Linked DNA regions of Homo sapiens: regions 2, 3 and 4 are each linked to region 1. Evidence: promoter capture Hi-C in 16 types of primary human blood cells and fetal thymus (Javierre and others, 2016). All regions are on one chromosome and are shown on one strand. Each heading gives the region's core, a stretch centred on a gene start or on the middle of the fragment in contact. The rest is flanking DNA. Distances are from core to core; before and after follow the strand shown. Region 1 holds the start of ZNHIT2 (zinc finger HIT-type containing 2). Region 2 holds the start of MALAT1 (metastasis associated lung adenocarcinoma transcript 1). Region 3 overlaps PYGM (glycogen phosphorylase, muscle associated). Region 4 overlaps SF1 (splicing factor 1).

What was found. Contacts are between HindIII fragments. The CHiCAGO score rates a contact against its expected background, and 5 or more counts as called.
Region 2: a contact is called between a fragment that was not itself captured here and the fragment with the promoter of ZNHIT2 in region 1, in 1 of 17 cell types (fetal thymus). The highest score is 5.4, in fetal thymus.
Region 3: a fragment that was not itself captured here is called in contact with the fragment with the promoter of ZNHIT2 in region 1 in 1 of 17 cell types (naive B cells); the score reaches 5.2 in naive B cells.
Region 4: a contact is called between a fragment that was not itself captured here and the fragment with the promoter of ZNHIT2 in region 1, in 3 of 17 cell types (naive CD8 T cells, naive CD4 T cells and M1 macrophages). The highest score is 5.8, in naive CD8 T cells.

The regions. Positions count from the first base shown.
Region 1 is chr11:65,115,531-65,119,667 of GRCh38, forward strand. ZNHIT2 (zinc finger HIT-type containing 2) reads right to left here and starts at 2,171. Exons shown (of 1, transcript NM_014205.4): 1 at 873-2,171. The coding sequence starts at 2,123. The coding sequence ends at 912. It overlaps TM7SF2 (transmembrane 7 superfamily member 2), which reads left to right. Exons shown (of 10, transcript NM_003273.6): 9 at 1-68; 10 at 363-700. The coding sequence ends at 523. RefSeq lists enhancers at 1-499, 500-1,044, 1,591-2,134, 2,127-2,421. The HindIII fragment of the contact is 3,565 bases long and covers 1-2,240 here.
Region 2 is chr11:65,496,905-65,501,041 of GRCh38, forward strand. MALAT1 (metastasis associated lung adenocarcinoma transcript 1) reads left to right here and starts at 2,141. Exons shown (of 1, transcript NR_002819.5): 1 at 2,141-4,137. It also overlaps TALAM1. RefSeq lists enhancers at 133-1,332, 302-741, 528-672, 902-1,141, 1,202-1,271 and 3 more, a cis regulatory region at 593-608 and a silencer at 802-861. The HindIII fragment of the contact is 1,283 bases long and covers 1,129-2,411 here.
Region 3 is chr11:64,748,523-64,752,659 of GRCh38, forward strand. It overlaps PYGM (glycogen phosphorylase, muscle associated), which reads right to left. Exons shown (of 20, transcript NM_005609.4): 13 at 3,881-3,982; 14 at 3,402-3,549; 15 at 3,075-3,133; 16 at 2,803-2,944; 17 at 1,854-2,061. Among named protein-coding and RNA genes, the nearest start is that of RASGRP2, 6.4 kb to the left of the region's middle. The HindIII fragment of the contact is 2,045 bases long and covers 1,866-3,910 here.
Region 4 is chr11:64,767,207-64,771,343 of GRCh38, forward strand. SF1 (splicing factor 1) reads right to left here. Exons shown (of 13, transcript NM_004630.4): 4 at 3,050-3,202; 5 at 2,758-2,847; 6 at 2,220-2,403; 7 at 2,017-2,132; 8 at 1,816-1,923; 9 at 900-1,080; 10 at 365-638; 11 at 1-45. Among named protein-coding and RNA genes, the nearest start is that of SF1, 9.3 kb to the right of the region's middle. RefSeq lists an enhancer at 1-277. The HindIII fragment of the contact is 2,511 bases long and covers 1,136-3,646 here.

The DNA.
Region 1 (4,137 bases), core at 921-3,420:
GGGTATGGTCCGCCATCCCAACTATCTTGGAGACCTCATCATGGCTCTGGCTTGGTCCTTGCCCTGCGGTGAGTGGCCCATGTGGATATGGGTAGGGACATGTGAGGGGAAGAGGTGGCTCAGCGACCACAGGATGCCTACTTTGGGTATGCACCAGTGAGAGTAGTCAGAGAGCTGGGGGTGGACCCAGTGTGTGGCTGGGGCACACCTCTGTGCCAACCTAGTACCGTGTGCTTTGCTGCAGACCCTGGCGCTTTTGCTGCTGAGCCCCGATGCCCACATGAGCCATGAGGTGTGGAAACGTTTGTGAACTGCGGGGTGGAGGGGCCGGCAGGGTGGTCACAGAGCCTCCTTCTCTACAGGGGTGTCACACCTGCTGCCCTACTTCTACCTCCTCTACTTCACCGCGCTGCTGGTGCACCGTGAGGCCCGGGATGAGCGGCAGTGCCTGCAGAAGTACGGCCTGGCCTGGCAGGAGTACTGCCGGCGTGTGCCTTACCGCATCATGCCCTACATCTACTGAAGCGGCTCCACCACCCCAGGTGGGGGCATGTGCCCACTCATCCACCAGCACACCCAGGACCAGGAGCCTCGACACACTTGGGACTCAAGGGCTTGCACCCCACCCAGCCCTGAGGATGAACAACCTCAGAGAAGAGGTGGTTTAGAGCAAGGAAAAAAATGAAACCAGTGACCAAAATCGGAGATGCTCTTCCTCCTTTGGATAAACACTGGGAACCCTTGGTGCACTTCTCTCCCCTAGGACTGGCTGGGTCAGCACTGATCAGGGAGAAGCTGAGCAGTGGCTTGTGGGCCCAGGAATCTGGGGTCTGGTGGGACAATAGCTATCCCTCAGAAACAAGCAACAGGGCTGACCAGTCACAGCTTTATTAATGACCAGGGTAACCCGTTCAGCTAGGGAGCTCCTCAATGAGAGTTCTTGGGGCAGGTGGCACGGGGCCTCCCCAAAGCCGCTCCAGCTCCCCAGTGAGGGCGGCCACCTCCTCGGCTACCACAGCATGGGCTTGGTGAGCCCTGGCGCAGTCTAGGGCCAGGGGTGTGAGGGCCGCCTCATTTTCGTTGGTCCAGGCCAGGAGGAACTGGCACTTTTTCCGGGCCCGGTAAAGATGATCTCGCTCTTCTCTAGCCACGGCCTGTTTCCGGGCACGGCCCAGGGTCTGTGCCAGGTCCCCCAGTGCTGCCAGCGTGTAGCCTTTCTGGTTGGTCGGGCCCTCGCCCAGCAGGATGCGGGCGACCTCGTGCATAGCCCCTCGTGTGCCCAGGGGCCCCGGCGGGTGCTCGCCTGCTTCCAGCACGTGGGCTGCCGCCTGCAGGGCTTCTTCCGCAGAGGCGAAGACTTGCTGGGCACCCAGGGCTCCGGAAACGCCGAGCAGTGTGGCACAGAAGTCAGAGAGCAGCGCGTCGTCACCGCCGTGATACAGGGCGAGAGTATGCGCGTAGGCGAACAGCACATTGGGCAGCTGGAAGCGCACGAGCGGCGAGACTGGGCCGCGGCTCAGGCTGACTATCGCGGGGATGCGGGTGGGTACGACGGGCGTGCAGGCCCCCGGGACATCTCCAAGAACCCGCTCGGCGGCCGCGGGCTCCGCGGCGGAGGCATCTTTCACAGAATCCGGCGGGGTCCTCGCAGGGGCGAGCTCCAGCTCCGCGGCGTCACTACCCGGGGCATTATCCAGCTCCTCCAGAAGCTGCGGTCCGGCTCCGCGGTTCCACCACCACGGCCGCCATGGAGGCAGCAGCCGCCCGGCCTCACCGCGGCTCAGCAGCCGCTCGAAGGCAGCTTTTTCGCCCGGCGCCAGCCGCTCCCAGAGTCCCGATAGGCCGCCGGGCGCCGGGCCGGAGCTGAGGCCTGCTTCCCCAGGCTCGTCCTCGGTCTCGCGTTGCTGACGCAGCCGGCGTAGGGCGCTTGCTAGGCGGCTGGGAGGAGCGCTGCAACCGCGGAGCTCTCCCAGCACCTGGTCACGGTAGAAGTTTTCTGCGCAGGTGCCATGCGTCCGGTAGCAGCGCAGCGAGCAGTAGGGCGCATTACAGCGAGGGCAGGTGTAACGCGCTGGCTGGACCTCCCCCGCCGGGCAGAAGCCACAGGGCCCGGCCGGCTCCATGGCAACTGGCACCGCGATCTACCTGCGAACGCACGCCGGTGGTAGTTCGAAACTTCCGGGGCTTCTTCGATTACTTCCGGTTCGCAGCGCGGCCGACGGCGCGCTGTGTTTTCGCAAAGCTTCCGAGGATTCTCGGCAATTTCCGCCCACGCCCGAAAGCCAAGCCCCACCCCTTTCCCTAGTAGGGCGAGAGCAGGCCCAGAAGCCGGGCGTCAGGTACGAGCCCCGCCCTATGCGATGACGCAAGGAGCGAAAAAATGGGTCTGGCGAGCGCTTCGCCGGTGCCACGTCTCCCCCTAGTGGTCACACCAAAACGTGGCCCGATCATCTAAAGAGAAAACCCTCTTTTTAGCACTACAATGTGCTGTGGCATAAATCCATCTTTACTAGGCACCTACTCTGGGCCACTAATTGTGCCAAGCCTACGGGAGGCGATGCATCCCTGCGCTGGACACAGACAAATAAAATGCACTAGGGGACACAGACAAATAAAAGGACAGTTAGGGCCAGGTACGGTGGGTCACGCCGGTAATCCCAGCATTTTGGGAGGCCGAGGCGGGCAGATGACCTGAGGTCAGGAGTTTGAGACCAGCCTGACCAACATGGAGAAACCCCGTCTCTACTAAGAATACAAAATTAGCCGGGCGTGGGGGACGGGTGCTTGTAGTCCCAGCTACTCCTGAGGCTGAGGCAGGGGAATCGCTTGAACCCGGGAGGTGGAGGCTGCAGTTAGCCGAGATCGCGCCACCGCTCTCCAGCCTGCGAGCCTGGGCCACAGAGAGAAACTCCACCTCAAAAAGATAAATAGAAAGCAGCATTTAAGAAATATCTGAGCTCCTATGATTTTTTTCCTCCAAAACTGCCTCTTCTTTTCATTAAGTATCTTCTCATTAAATACCACTATTCATCCATCTTATTAAGTGCAGGCCCCATTCTAGGTGCCAAGAACACAATGCACATCAAAGGGAGCCGGGGGTCCCTGTTCTAATAGAGCTCACTCTTGTGGTGGAGTGGGGGGTGTGATGAACCAAACTGTGAGTGTTCTTTGCATCCCTGCTACTACTGGTGGTCTAAGCTTCCTGACCCCTCATGTGGATGACAACACATTAAGTGTTTTTCCTAACTTTCTTGCCAGCCCTCCAGAAAAACCTGCCAGAGAAATTAGATCACAAGTCAGATGAGATCCATCTGTTACTCAAAACCCTTCTGCGACCCTCCATTGCACTTGGACTCAAACCCAAACTCCTCTCTATGGCTGACAAGGCCTTGCAGGATCTGCCCGCCCCCAGCCCTAGACATCACCTCTTCCCCATCTTCACACAGTCCTCTAGGCTTGAAATATTCCCCTACCTGATCACTTGACTGGTTCATCTCAGGTCTCACTCACGTCATTTAAACAGGACCTCTCGGCTGGGCACAGCGGCTGACACCTGTAATCTCAGCACTTTGGGAGGCCAAGGTGGGCGGATCACTTGAGCCCAGTTCAAGACCAGCCTGGGCAACATAGCAAAACCCTGTCTCTACAAAAAAGTACAAAAAATTAGCCAGGTGTGGCGGTGCATGCCTGTAGTCCTCAGCTACTTTGGAGGCTGAGTAGGATCACCTGGGCCCAGGAGTTGGCGGCTGCAGTGAGCCATGATTGTGCAACTGCACTCCAGCCTGGATGAGAGAGACCTTGTCTCAAAAACAAAAAAGAAAAGGCCGGGCACTGTGGCTCATGGCTGTAATCCCAGTACTTTGGGAGGCCGAGGTGGGCGATCACGAGGTCAAGAGATCGAGACCATCCTGGCCAACATGGGGAAACCCCATGTCTACTAAAAATACAAAAATTAGCTGGGCGTGGTGGCACATGCCTGTAGTCCCAGCTACTCAGGGGGCTGAGGCAGGAGAATGGCGTGAACCCGGGAGGCTGAGGTTGCAGTGAGCTCGGATTGTGCCACTGCACTCCAGCCTGGCGACAGTGCGAGACTCTGTCTCAATAAAATAAAATAAAGAAAAAAGAAAAACAAAAAAA
Region 2 (4,137 bases), core at 520-3,019, 380 kb after region 1:
AGAGTTGCTGTATCATTGTGTTAGTTTTGCCATCCTAACCTATACAGCGTCACTAATCTCTCCCCTCGGAGTTGACTGCCTAAAAACAAGCCATGGATACAGGTTCCAAAGACCCGGGGGTGAGGGAGCGGAGAGGGTGGGTGTCACCACCCCGTCCAGCTCCAAGCTTTGTGTGCCCTGGAACTCTCCATTTTAGGTCATTGCTTCAGTTTCTTTTCTAAAAAATTAGGCTGCTGCAAGGTCAGCCTGAGACCACTTCTGCCCCGAGAATTCTAGACTAGTAAGACCTGGTGACATACAAACGACGAAGATATTTTACAATAATGCCATGGCCCTTGATAGCTACACGAGGTTTGTGTTCTGATTTTAAATTAATGGATGACGTCGAGACTATATGGAGGAAATGACAAAGGACAGGAGAGAGGTGGGAAAGGAAGACCTAGACTGAAAATGGAAGTTGGGCAGCAGCTCCACGAAAGAAAGACCAGCCCCCAAGTGCAGTGACAGCGCAGAGTAGCGACCGAGAAGTTCCCAGGCCAGCTGCCACCCCGCCCCCATGCCATTCCCCAGAACAGGCACAGGCGTTAGGGCGGGGCGCGCGTGCGCAGTCACGCGCTGCGCCAACCGCCACAGCTCCGGGAAGGCGGCCAGGACCGGCTAGAGCCGGTTAGAACCAGTGGCGCCCGCCCACGAGCCAGCGCCTCACAAAGGGAGGGCGGCTCACGGCCCTCGCGTATCCCTGCGCGGCGCTCGCGAGCCGCCCCTCCCCCGGCGTTTGTCCCTGACGCAGCCCCACCGGTTGCGCAGTCCCTCCCCGCCCCCGCTCTCCCCTCCGCAGCCTGCAGCCCGAGACTTCTGTAAAGGACTGGGGCCCCGCAACTGGCCTCTCCTGCCCTCTTAAGCGCAGCGCCATTTTAGCAACGCAGAAGCCCGGCGCCGGGAAGCCTCAGCTCGCCTGAAGGCAGGTCCCCTCTGACGCCTCCGGGAGCCCAGGTTTCCCAGAGTCCTTGGGACGCAGCGACGAGTTGTGCTGCTATCTTAGCTGTCCTTATAGGCTGGCCATTCCAGGTGGTGGTATTTAGATAAAACCACTCAAACTCTGCAGTTTGGTCTTGGGGTTTGGAGGAAAGCTTTTATTTTTCTTCCTGCTCCGGTTCAGAAGGTCTGAAGCTCATACCTAACCAGGCATAACACAGAATCTGCAAAACAAAAACCCCTAAAAAAGCAGACCCAGAGCAGTGTAAACACTTCTGGGTGTGTCCCTGACTGGCTGCCCAAGGTCTCTGTGTCTTCGGAGACAAAGCCATTCGCTTAGTTGGTCTACTTTAAAAGGCCACTTGAACTCGCTTTCCATGGCGATTTGCCTTGTGAGCACTTTCAGGAGAGCCTGGAAGCTGAAAAACGGTAGAAAAATTTCCGTGCGGGCCGTGGGGGGCTGGCGGCAACTGGGGGGCCGCAGATCAGAGTGGGCCACTGGCAGCCAACGGCCCCCGGGGCTCAGGCGGGGAGCAGCTCTGTGGTGTGGGATTGAGGCGTTTTCCAAGAGTGGGTTTTCACGTTTCTAAGATTTCCCAAGCAGACAGCCCGTGCTGCTCCGATTTCTCGAACAAAAAAGCAAAACGTGTGGCTGTCTTGGGAGCAAGTCGCAGGACTGCAAGCAGTTGGGGGAGAAAGTCCGCCATTTTGCCACTTCTCAACCGTCCCTGCAAGGCTGGGGCTCAGTTGCGTAATGGAAAGTAAAGCCCTGAACTATCACACTTTAATCTTCCTTCAAAAGGTGGTAAACTATACCTACTGTCCCTCAAGAGAACACAAGAAGTGCTTTAAGAGGTATTTTAAAAGTTCCGGGGGTTTTGTGAGGTGTTTGATGACCCGTTTAAAATATGATTTCCATGTTTCTTTTGTCTAAAGTTTGCAGCTCAAATCTTTCCACACGCTAGTAATTTAAGTATTTCTGCATGTGTAGTTTGCATTCAAGTTCCATAAGCTGTTAAGAAAAATCTAGAAAAGTAAAACTAGAACCTATTTTTAACCGAAGAACTACTTTTTGCCTCCCTCACAAAGGCGGCGGAAGGTGATCGAATTCCGGTGATGCGAGTTGTTCTCCGTCTATAAATACGCCTCGCCCGAGCTGTGCGGTAGGCATTGAGGCAGCCAGCGCAGGGGCTTCTGCTGAGGGGGCAGGCGGAGCTTGAGGAAACCGCAGATAAGTTTTTTTCTCTTTGAAAGATAGAGATTAATACAACTACTTAAAAAATATAGTCAATAGGTTACTAAGATATTGCTTAGCGTTAAGTTTTTAACGTAATTTTAATAGCTTAAGATTTTAAGAGAAAATATGAAGACTTAGAAGAGTAGCATGAGGAAGGAAAAGATAAAAGGTTTCTAAAACATGACGGAGGTTGAGATGAAGCTTCTTCATGGAGTAAAAAATGTATTTAAAAGAAAATTGAGAGAAAGGACTACAGAGCCCCGAATTAATACCAATAGAAGGGCAATGCTTTTAGATTAAAATGAAGGTGACTTAAACAGCTTAAAGTTTAGTTTAAAAGTTGTAGGTGATTAAAATAATTTGAAGGCGATCTTTTAAAAAGAGATTAAACCGAAGGTGATTAAAAGACCTTGAAATCCATGACGCAGGGAGAATTGCGTCATTTAAAGCCTAGTTAACGCATTTACTAAACGCAGACGAAAATGGAAAGATTAATTGGGAGTGGTAGGATGAAACAATTTGGAGAAGATAGAAGTTTGAAGTGGAAAACTGGAAGACAGAAGTACGGGAAGGCGAAGAAAAGAATAGAGAAGATAGGGAAATTAGAAGATAAAAACATACTTTTAGAAGAAAAAAGATAAATTTAAACCTGAAAAGTAGGAAGCAGAAGAAAAAAGACAAGCTAGGAAACAAAAAGCTAAGGGCAAAATGTACAAACTTAGAAGAAAATTGGAAGATAGAAACAAGATAGAAAATGAAAATATTGTCAAGAGTTTCAGATAGAAAATGAAAAACAAGCTAAGACAAGTATTGGAGAAGTATAGAAGATAGAAAAATATAAAGCCAAAAATTGGATAAAATAGCACTGAAAAAATGAGGAAATTATTGGTAACCAATTTATTTTAAAAGCCCATCAATTTAATTTCTGGTGGTGCAGAAGTTAGAAGGTAAAGCTTGAGAAGATGAGGGTGTTTACGTAGACCAGAACCAATTTAGAAGAATACTTGAAGCTAGAAGGGGAAGTTGGTTAAAAATCACATCAAAAAGCTACTAAAAGGACTGGTGTAATTTAAAAAAAACTAAGGCAGAAGGCTTTTGGAAGAGTTAGAAGAATTTGGAAGGCCTTAAATATAGTAGCTTAGTTTGAAAAATGTGAAGGACTTTCGTAACGGAAGTAATTCAAGATCAAGAGTAATTACCAACTTAATGTTTTTGCATTGGACTTTGAGTTAAGATTATTTTTTAAATCCTGAGGACTAGCATTAATTGACAGCTGACCCAGGTGCTACACAGAAGTGGATTCAGTGAATCTAGGAAGACAGCAGCAGACAGGATTCCAGGAACCAGTGTTTGATGAAGCTAGGACTGAGGAGCAAGCGAGCAAGCAGCAGTTCGTGGTGAAGATAGGAAAAGAGTCCAGGAGCCAGTGCGATTTGGTGAAGGAAGCTAGGAAGAAGGAAGGAGCGCTAACGATTTGGTGGTGAAGCTAGGAAAAAGGATTCCAGGAAGGAGCGAGTGCAATTTGGTGATGAAGGTAGCAGGCGGCTTGGCTTGGCAACCACACGGAGGAGGCGAGCAGGCGTTGTGCGTAGAGGATCCTAGACCAGCATGCCAGTGTGCCAAGGCCACAGGGAAAGCGAGTGGTTGGTAAAAATCCGTGAGGTCGGCAATATGTTGTTTTTCTGGAACTTACTTATGGTAACCTTTTATTTATTTTCTAATATAATGGGGGAGTTTCGTACTGAGGTGTAAAGGGATTTATATGGGGACGTAGGCCGATTTCCGGGTGTTGTAGGTTTCTCTTTTTCAGGCTTATACTCATGAATCTTGTCTGAAGCTTTTGAGGGCAGACTGCCAAGTCCTGGAGAAATAGTAGATGGCAAGTTTGTGGGTTTTTTTTTTTTACACGAATTTGAGGAAAACCA
Region 3 (4,137 bases), core at 1,638-4,137, 370 kb before region 1:
TCAGAAATATCACCCTTCTGATAATTATCTTAAGGAAATCATCAGATGTGGACGTAGACATTAAAAGGTTGCTCATCACAGTAATATTTAACAAACCGGAAATTAACCTTAGTGTCCAGCCACATGGAATTGATTAAATAAGTTGTGACATGCTCATAGGATGGAATGTTATACAAACATTTAAAATATTTTTGAAGACTAATAACATGGAAAATCTCTCTCCAATGCTAAGATATCAGGATTCAAGCAGGGCGCGGTGGCTCACGCCTGTAAACCCAGCACTTTGGGAGGCCGAGGCGGGTGGATTACTTGAGGTCAGGAGTTCAAGACCAGCCTGGCCAACATGATGAAACCCCATCTCTACAAAAATACAAAAATTACCTGGGCGTGATGGTGGGTGCCTGTAATCCCAGCTACTCGGGAGGCTGAGGTGAGAGAATCACTTGAACCTGGGAGGCGGAGGTTGCAGTGAGCCAAAATCATGCCATTGCACTCCAGCCTAGGTGACAGAGTGACTCTGTCTCAAAAACATAAAAATAAATAGGCCAGGCGCAGTGGCTCACCCCTGTAAGCCCAGCACTTGGGAGGCCGAGGAGGGTGGATCACCTGAGGTCAGGAGATAGAGACCATCCTGGCCAAAATGATGAAACCCCGTCTCTACTAAAAATACAAAAATTAGCTGGGCGTGGTGGTGGGTATCTGTAATCCCAGCTACTCAGGAGGCTGAGGCAGGAGAATCGCTTGTACCCGGGCGGTGGAGGTTGCGGTGAGCCAAGATCGTGCCATTGCACTGCGGCCTGGGTGACAGAGCAAGACTCCATCTCAAAACAAAACAAAAGGCCGGGCGCAGTGGCTCACGCCTGTAATCCCAGCACTTTGGGAGGCCGAGGCAGGCAGATCACGAGGTCAGCAGATCGAGACCATCCTGGCTAACATGGTGAAACCCCGTCTCTACTAAAAATGCAAAAAATTAGCCAGGCGTGGCAGCAGGTGCCTGTAGTCCCAGCTACTCGGGAGGTAGAGGCAGGAGAATGGTGTGAACCCAGGAGGCGGAGCTTGCAGTGAGCCAAGATCGCGCCACTGCACTCCAGCCTGGGTGACAGAGCGAGACTCCGTCTCAAAAAAAAAAATACATTAAAATAAAATAAAATAAAATTTTTTAATGTAATGCCAGGATAATGTCTTCTCTGAAGAACTGTTTCTGACCATAGGCCCCTTGTAACTACTGTGCCCATATTTCCCTTTTGCCCATGGCTTTCAGGGAGCAAGGATTTTTTTTTTTTTTTTTGAGGCAGAGTCTCACTCTGTTACCCAGGCTGGAGCGCAGTGGCGCGATCTCGGCTCACTGCAAGCTCCGCCTCCTGGATTCACACCATTCTCCTGCCTCAGCCTCCCGATCAGCTGGGACTACAGGCGCCTGCCAACACGCCCGGCTAATTTTTTGTATTTTTAGTAGAGATGGGGTTTCACCGTGTTAGCCAGGATGGTCTGGATCTCTTGACCTTGTGATCCGCCCGCCTTGGCCTCCCAAAGTGCTGGGATTACAGGTGTGAGCCACCGCACCCGGCGTAGAGCAAGGATTTTTTTACTTCCATTTCCCAAACAATATTATCTCTTAGGGTTGATATAATATTCTCTTCCTTTTCCTTCAGTTCTATATTACTTCTTTCTTTTCCAATTTCATTAACCTTATTTGCTGTAAGCGCCCTCTAAAGTTTCCCAGAATCCTGCTGGCCATGACCAAGACCTTGCTGGGCCTGGACCAGTCTTTCCAGACGTGCCGCTTGCTCCCAGCACCACTCTCCAGCAGCCACACCTGGGTGTCTTTTGCCCGTGAACCCTGACCCCCATACCCTCTTTGGTCAAGCTTATCCACATCCTCCACCCGCATGCCAAAGATGAAGAAGTTTTCCTCTCCCGCCTCTTCTGCCATCTCCACATTGGCCCCGTCCATGGTGCCAATGGTCAGAGCCCCGTTGAGCATGAACTTCATGTTGCCGGTGCCTGAGGCTTCAGTGCCCGCAGTGGAGATCTGCTCAGAGAGGTCTGCAGCTGGGATCACTGTGGGGTGGCAGCAGGGGGACAAGTCAACTCAGGGAAGACCCTCACACCAGCTGGGGACTCTCAGATTAGGCTGGCCCCAGGCATAGCTGGACTCAGAGTCGCCCCACCCCAAACTCCCAGTCTTCACCAGCCAAGCCTCCCTCTCACACCGCACCCCCACTGCCCTCTACCTCTTGTTGATTCTTGACCATCTAGGTCCAACCTGGATTTCCCCACCTCTGTTGCAGATTTGAAGGTAATTTCACCCTGTACTGCCTGAAATTCCACCATTAGAGGGCATCCTCATGGGGTTTTTGCTTTGTTTTGTTTCCTCTTGTTTTTTGAGACGGAGTTTTGCTTTTGTTGCCCAGGCTGAAGTGCAATGGCGTGATCTCGGCTCACTGCAACCTCCGCCTCCCAGGTTCAAGTGATTCTCCTGCTTCAGCCTCCCAAGTAGCTGGGATTATAGGCACCTGCCATCACGCCCAGCTAATTTTTGTATTTTTAGTAGAGACGGGGTTTCACCATGTTGGCCAGGCTGGTCTCGAACTCCTGACCTCAGGTGATCCACCCACCTTGGCCTCCCAAAGTGCTGGGATTACAGGCATGGGCCACTGCGCCTGGCCTCCTCATGGTTTAAGCATTGCCCTCTCCAGATTCTTCTTTCAAGTACAAGTATCCCAGGAAGAGACGACTGATACCTCTTCCTGAGACTGAACTAGTCAGAGCCTCCCTAGGGTCCCTGTTGGCAGCACCCACCTTTCTCGGCCAGTGAGACTCGGTAGTTCTCCAGGAAGATGACACGGAGGCGGTCACCCACTGCCGGGTCATGGTTGACCACATCCCCGATGGCTGTGACGAGTCTGATGATCATCTTGGCCATGTGGTACCCAGGTGCAGCCTGAGGGGACAAAGTCTGGGGTCAGCTCTACTGCCTGGCCCCCCACCCCCTATCCTGCAACTCAGCTGGGCTGACCTCAACCTGGATATATCAAAGGACGGGAGCCCAGGGCTGGAGCCTGGCTTCTCACCTTCCCTCCAATCATCACAGTCCGAGGCACAAAAAACTTATTGGGCTCCCTCTTGATGCCTGTGGAGAAACGAGAGGGATCCAGTGGGCCTACCTTTCCCTCTGGGTAGTAGCTCCTGACAGAGGCTGGGCTGGGACACCGTAGGCCTGACTCGAACAATCACTTGCTATGCTCTCTTAGCCTCAGTTTGCCCATCTGTGAAATGGGGATAATTCCATGTCCCAAGAGTAGTCCCAAGTCCAAAGGAGATGTTGGTTGGGCAATATGTACTATGCCGCAGGAACACGGGGGAGCACTGAGAGACAGGGTAGAGTGGCTGCCACTCACGGTTGTACAGGGTGATGACATGGAGGCAGTTGAGGAGCTGTCGTTTATATTCGTGAATCCGCTTCACCTGGATGTCGAAGAGTGAGTTGGGGTTGATGTGGACTTTGTATTCCCTCTCTAGGTAGGCAGCAAACTTCAACTTGTTTTCCTGGAGGCAGAGACGGGGAAGGGCTCACCAACAGGCCACAGCCTCAGGAAATCCTACAGTCCACACTCCAGTCAGCCCCAGGAGGATGGCTACCAGGAGGCTCACTGGCTACTTCTGTCCACTCCTGTACCAGGGCAGACATTGCTAATCAATGTCAGCACTGTTCATGTGAGGTCAGATGATGCCTTCCCACCACAGACTCCAGGCAACTTCCACCAACGGCCTGGGCTGGCAGGAGAGATGAGCTCTATTTGCCACGCCTGACCCAGACATCTGGCCCCTCCAGCGCTCTCCACACAGCACAGCTGTCCCACATTGCATCTCTCCCCACCTGCTTCACTTTGGCCACATCCCGAATGAAAGCTTCATCATCCACAAAGGAGAGCAGTTTGCGCAGCTGGTCCAGGTCAGAGATGAAGTCCTCCCCGATGCGCTATGGGAAGACGGCTCTCAGCCAAGCCCATCCCCATGTCCTCCCTCCTCCCAACACAGAAGGGGCCATTTCCAGGTCAGCCAAGCCCCCTTCACCCAGCAGGCTGCTCTGGGGGCCCTCCCAGCCCCTCCTCCTCCAGCCGCCCAGATGGGGCA
Region 4 (4,137 bases), core at 1,141-3,640, 350 kb before region 1:
GGCGATAGACCCCAGAGCCCACAGGCGTACTTCCCAGGTACTGATCTTGATGGAAGGAAAGAGCAGGGACTTAGCAGGACATTGGAACTGGCCAGGGAAGCCACCCCTGTGATAACCTCAGTTGCTATCCTTACGCGAGTTCTGAAAACCATGCCTGTAAAAGGCAGGTCTGTGCTTACCCAACACAGAATCACTCCCTGAACCAGAATGGAGTCTTGCTCCTTCCAGAGCCACAACCCTGGCAAGCCAGGCAGACCCAGCACATTGCCCAGCCACTTGAGAGCTGCTTCTAGCCAACAGCGACCTGACGTAACCCCTTGCTTATCCCAAAGCCCCCAAGGTTTCTGGTCTGACACTTACTTACCCATTGGAGGAGGGCCATGGTGCCCAGGAGGGTGGGGGCCCTGGTTCATCGGTGGTGGTGGTGGCTGCATCCAAGGGGGTGGGGGTCCATTGGGGTTGTGCTGCATGGGATGTCCACCATGCCCACCTGTCAGGCTGGGTAATGGGTGTGGGAAGCTGTGGGGGCCACCTCCGGGCCCACCAGGACCACCTCCATGCATGCCGTGGTAGGGCCGACTCTCTGAAGGGCCAGAATTCATCCAGGGTGGGCGGCTCTGGGTGGTAGACATGAGAGACTACGTGAGAGCATTTCCTGCCAACGTCCCTGCCTGCGCCTCCTAGTGGCAACATTGTTCTTCGGGTTATGACACAGGACCAGAACACAAGAACAAGGTCTTCCCGAAGTGAGAAGTCCCCAAACTGGCCTGAGATCCCGGAAGAACAATGTTGCCATCCACATCCATTGTCTGCTCTACCCAAACCACGTGGCCATAGCTCCCAGTCTCTGCAGTAGAGAATGGGGAAGCCAGACCAAGAGAGCCAGCCCCCAGGCTCACCGGTGGAGGTGGGTTGTTGGCGGGAGCAGCAGGACGAGGTGCGCTGGCCAGGGGTGTGGTGGCAGGCCCAGAGGTGGAGCCCACAGATGCTGGGACAGGTGCTTCACCCAGTTCAGCCATGAGGGACAAATATTCTTTATCCATCCGTGCTTTATCCTGAGCTGACTGAGGATCACCAGGCCTGAAGTGGGGTGGGGGACACAAACAGAGAAAGGGGAAAAACTTGTTAAGAAGGAAGCTTTTATCCTGAGGAACCAACATATGGAAAGTTCTGAAGAATTCAATCACCAGATCATCACACATCTTTCTAACCCCTTACTGGGCATGGCTCTCAACAGTCTCATCAGATCTTCAGTTTCGTGCCCAGTTCTGCATCTGGGATCACCAGAGTAGAGGGGCCCCTGGGCGAAGAGCACAGGAGACCCTGAGCACCGATGAAGCACAGGTTCTCTCAAGTCAATTTCATCAAACTTCATTCCCAGTTTGAGGAAAGGAAAATCTATGCAAGACTGGCACAACTGCCAGAACGAACTTCCTAAACAAAACCTTACATATTCGCCAGCCAGTCAGAAAGTGTTGATATCGAGTGCTGACTTGCAACTGGTCAGAAATCTGTAGAGATTGCTTAGTCTTCTTGAACCAATTCTGAACAGCAAAAGCAGTGAATTTCCTATTGAGCCCCAGTAAAAACATACCCAAAATGGAAACTTCCAGTTTTCTTGGGCTCAAGACAAACAAACAGGGGTATCTGTACAGCCTATTTCTAATCATCCTGGGCTTTAAATCACACCATTACAGACCACACTAACAGAAAGGATGTTTCTCTTGGTAAGATTAACAGCAACCAATGAATGTGCCAGAAAAGTTGTCCTGCACATCGCAGGCTACCAGGAAACCGCAAGAGCCAGCCCCTCACCTTTGGAATTTACAGTCTGAAGCAATGTGGCCAGCCCCTCCACACTTGGTACACACTGTGGTGTTGGTAATGCTGCGGGTCTCTGAGCTCTGCCAGGGTCTTAAGATCCTATTAAAGGAAAAAGAGGTCAATGCAAGGGAACAATCTCTACTTCCATAGGTTCTTCAGGTCTCTACACTCTCCTTTAAACTGATCACATACCTGTTATCGTCTTCCCGAAGGGTCCCATTTAAGCGAGCCAACTCCCGAAGCTGCATCTTCCGTAGATCATTCTGGTCCTCTGGAGTCTCGATACCCTGCTTCAGGATGTTTCTTATCTAGTGAAAATGCAATGGACAGTTAAGTGCTTAGGGCCTCCACCTAGGTTTCTGCTAGGAGGCTTCCTTTCTGGGCTCACCGCTCACCTGTTCCACTGCCTTTTTGACGTTCTCCATTGTATTGGCAGTAACCAGGGCATGAAGTGGCTCATCTTCTCCTGGCAACATCTGGCCATCTTTGCGCCCAACCTTCCCTTCTTTCACAGACCCTTTCCCCCGGATCATAATCTTGGCATTGCACTCCTTCTCTATGTTCTTCAGGGTGTTCCCTCTAGAGAGGCAGAAATGACTAAGTTTATACCTGACAAATTCACACTCAAGAGGGAAGAGAGGCTGGACCAATTTGGCATTGGTGGGAAACCACAAGCGCAGAGAATTGGATTTTCCCACCAAGAGCTCCATGAACTCTATATTATGGTCAGCCACAGTAAACCTGAGGATTTGACTTCTCCGCACTAGTGGGGAAGTTAAGACACCTTCTCACAGAAAGGCATTAATTCAGCCAAAATGAAATGTCCTACCAAAAAGGGGAAAAGTAAGCCAACAGTCCCCAATTAGGCACAAAACGGACACATCTCACAGGCTCTAAAGGAATTCTATATCCTATAGACCAGCAGTTACTCACCTGGGCCCGATGAGCAGCCCCACAAAGTTGATTTCTGGGTACTCATCTTGTGGAATCATGACTTTATCACTCACACGTGTTGCTGGAGGTCTAAGAAAGAAAAGCCTGTGTCACCGCACATTTCTGGAGAATGACACAGCCAGCGGCTTTTCTAAAACCAAATATTGGTACCAAGTGCTAATTATGGGTGACTTGAGGCAAGAGGTGAGTAGTACCAATACTGTCCCATCCCAGCAGGTCACCCATGATCTGCATGTGTCTTCATCCCAGATGACCGAGCCCCTCCGCTTACTTGTAATCTGCAGGTGGCTTGAAATCCGGATTGAGTGCAACCATCTCTGTGATGAGGTTGTGCCGCTCCTCTTCCAGCTTTTTGCGGGTGCGGAACTCTCGGGTGTTAAGCCGCTTCCCCTCGCTATTGTAGATGGGCTCAGGGGAAGGGGACCTGTGGGAAACAGACTCCCGTTTACTATTCTGCACCGACTTCTCTCATTCCCACACGGACTATAACAAGTCTTTCCCAGCCCCTCTGCCTCTCAGACCCTAATACAACACTCTTCGGAGGAACCGACCATAACGTGTGCTACTCAAGATCGTGTGGAATGGGGAGATGGAAGCTGGCTTAACGTTAGGGGTCTGGGGTGTGTGTGAGAAAGGAAAAAAATAAAAGATTTTGCATCTAGAAGTGATGAGAGGAAAAAATGTCTATTCTTTGGGGAAAATCTTTGGACTGTAAGTGGCAAGGACAGTATCATCCCCTGGAGTCTTCTTGCCAAATACGGATTTTCTTCCATTTGAAAAAAAATACATATCCCAACTTTATGAACCACAGAAACCCCAAGTTTAGGCAAAAGGTTAACTCTTGGAGAGCTCATGCCCTATGAGGAAAAGCTTCTGTACCCCTAACACATAGTATGTATGAGCTCTTTAACCCAATGCAACTGGGACTGAAGGCTACTGCAGCTACTTGGCCCCCACAATGGAGAGAGATGGTTCGCTTCGTCTTTGCTTTTCCTTCAATGGCCTGGCTGGCTGTGTCCAAGGCCCAGGAGACAACCTGTTTTCTGGCTGTTCGAGGTTGGGGAGTCTGGGTAGAGAAAAACGTTAAAGTGCTAAAGCAGCTTCTGCGAGAGGCTGCAAATGCAGATTTGGTCATACTTGTCTAGGGTCTGAACCTGCAAACAGCAAGGGGAAAACCTATGATTCTCCACCAGAGTTTACAAGTCCAGAAAGCAGATTTTCTCTCTCTCATTTTTTTAAGGAGTAAAATGCTGTTGCTACAAGTAAAAAAATGTAATGATAAAATGGTCAGTTTACCACAGCTGGATTTTGCGGTAATAAAAAAGAGAGGTTACACTCCTAGAATTTTGAGTTAAGATT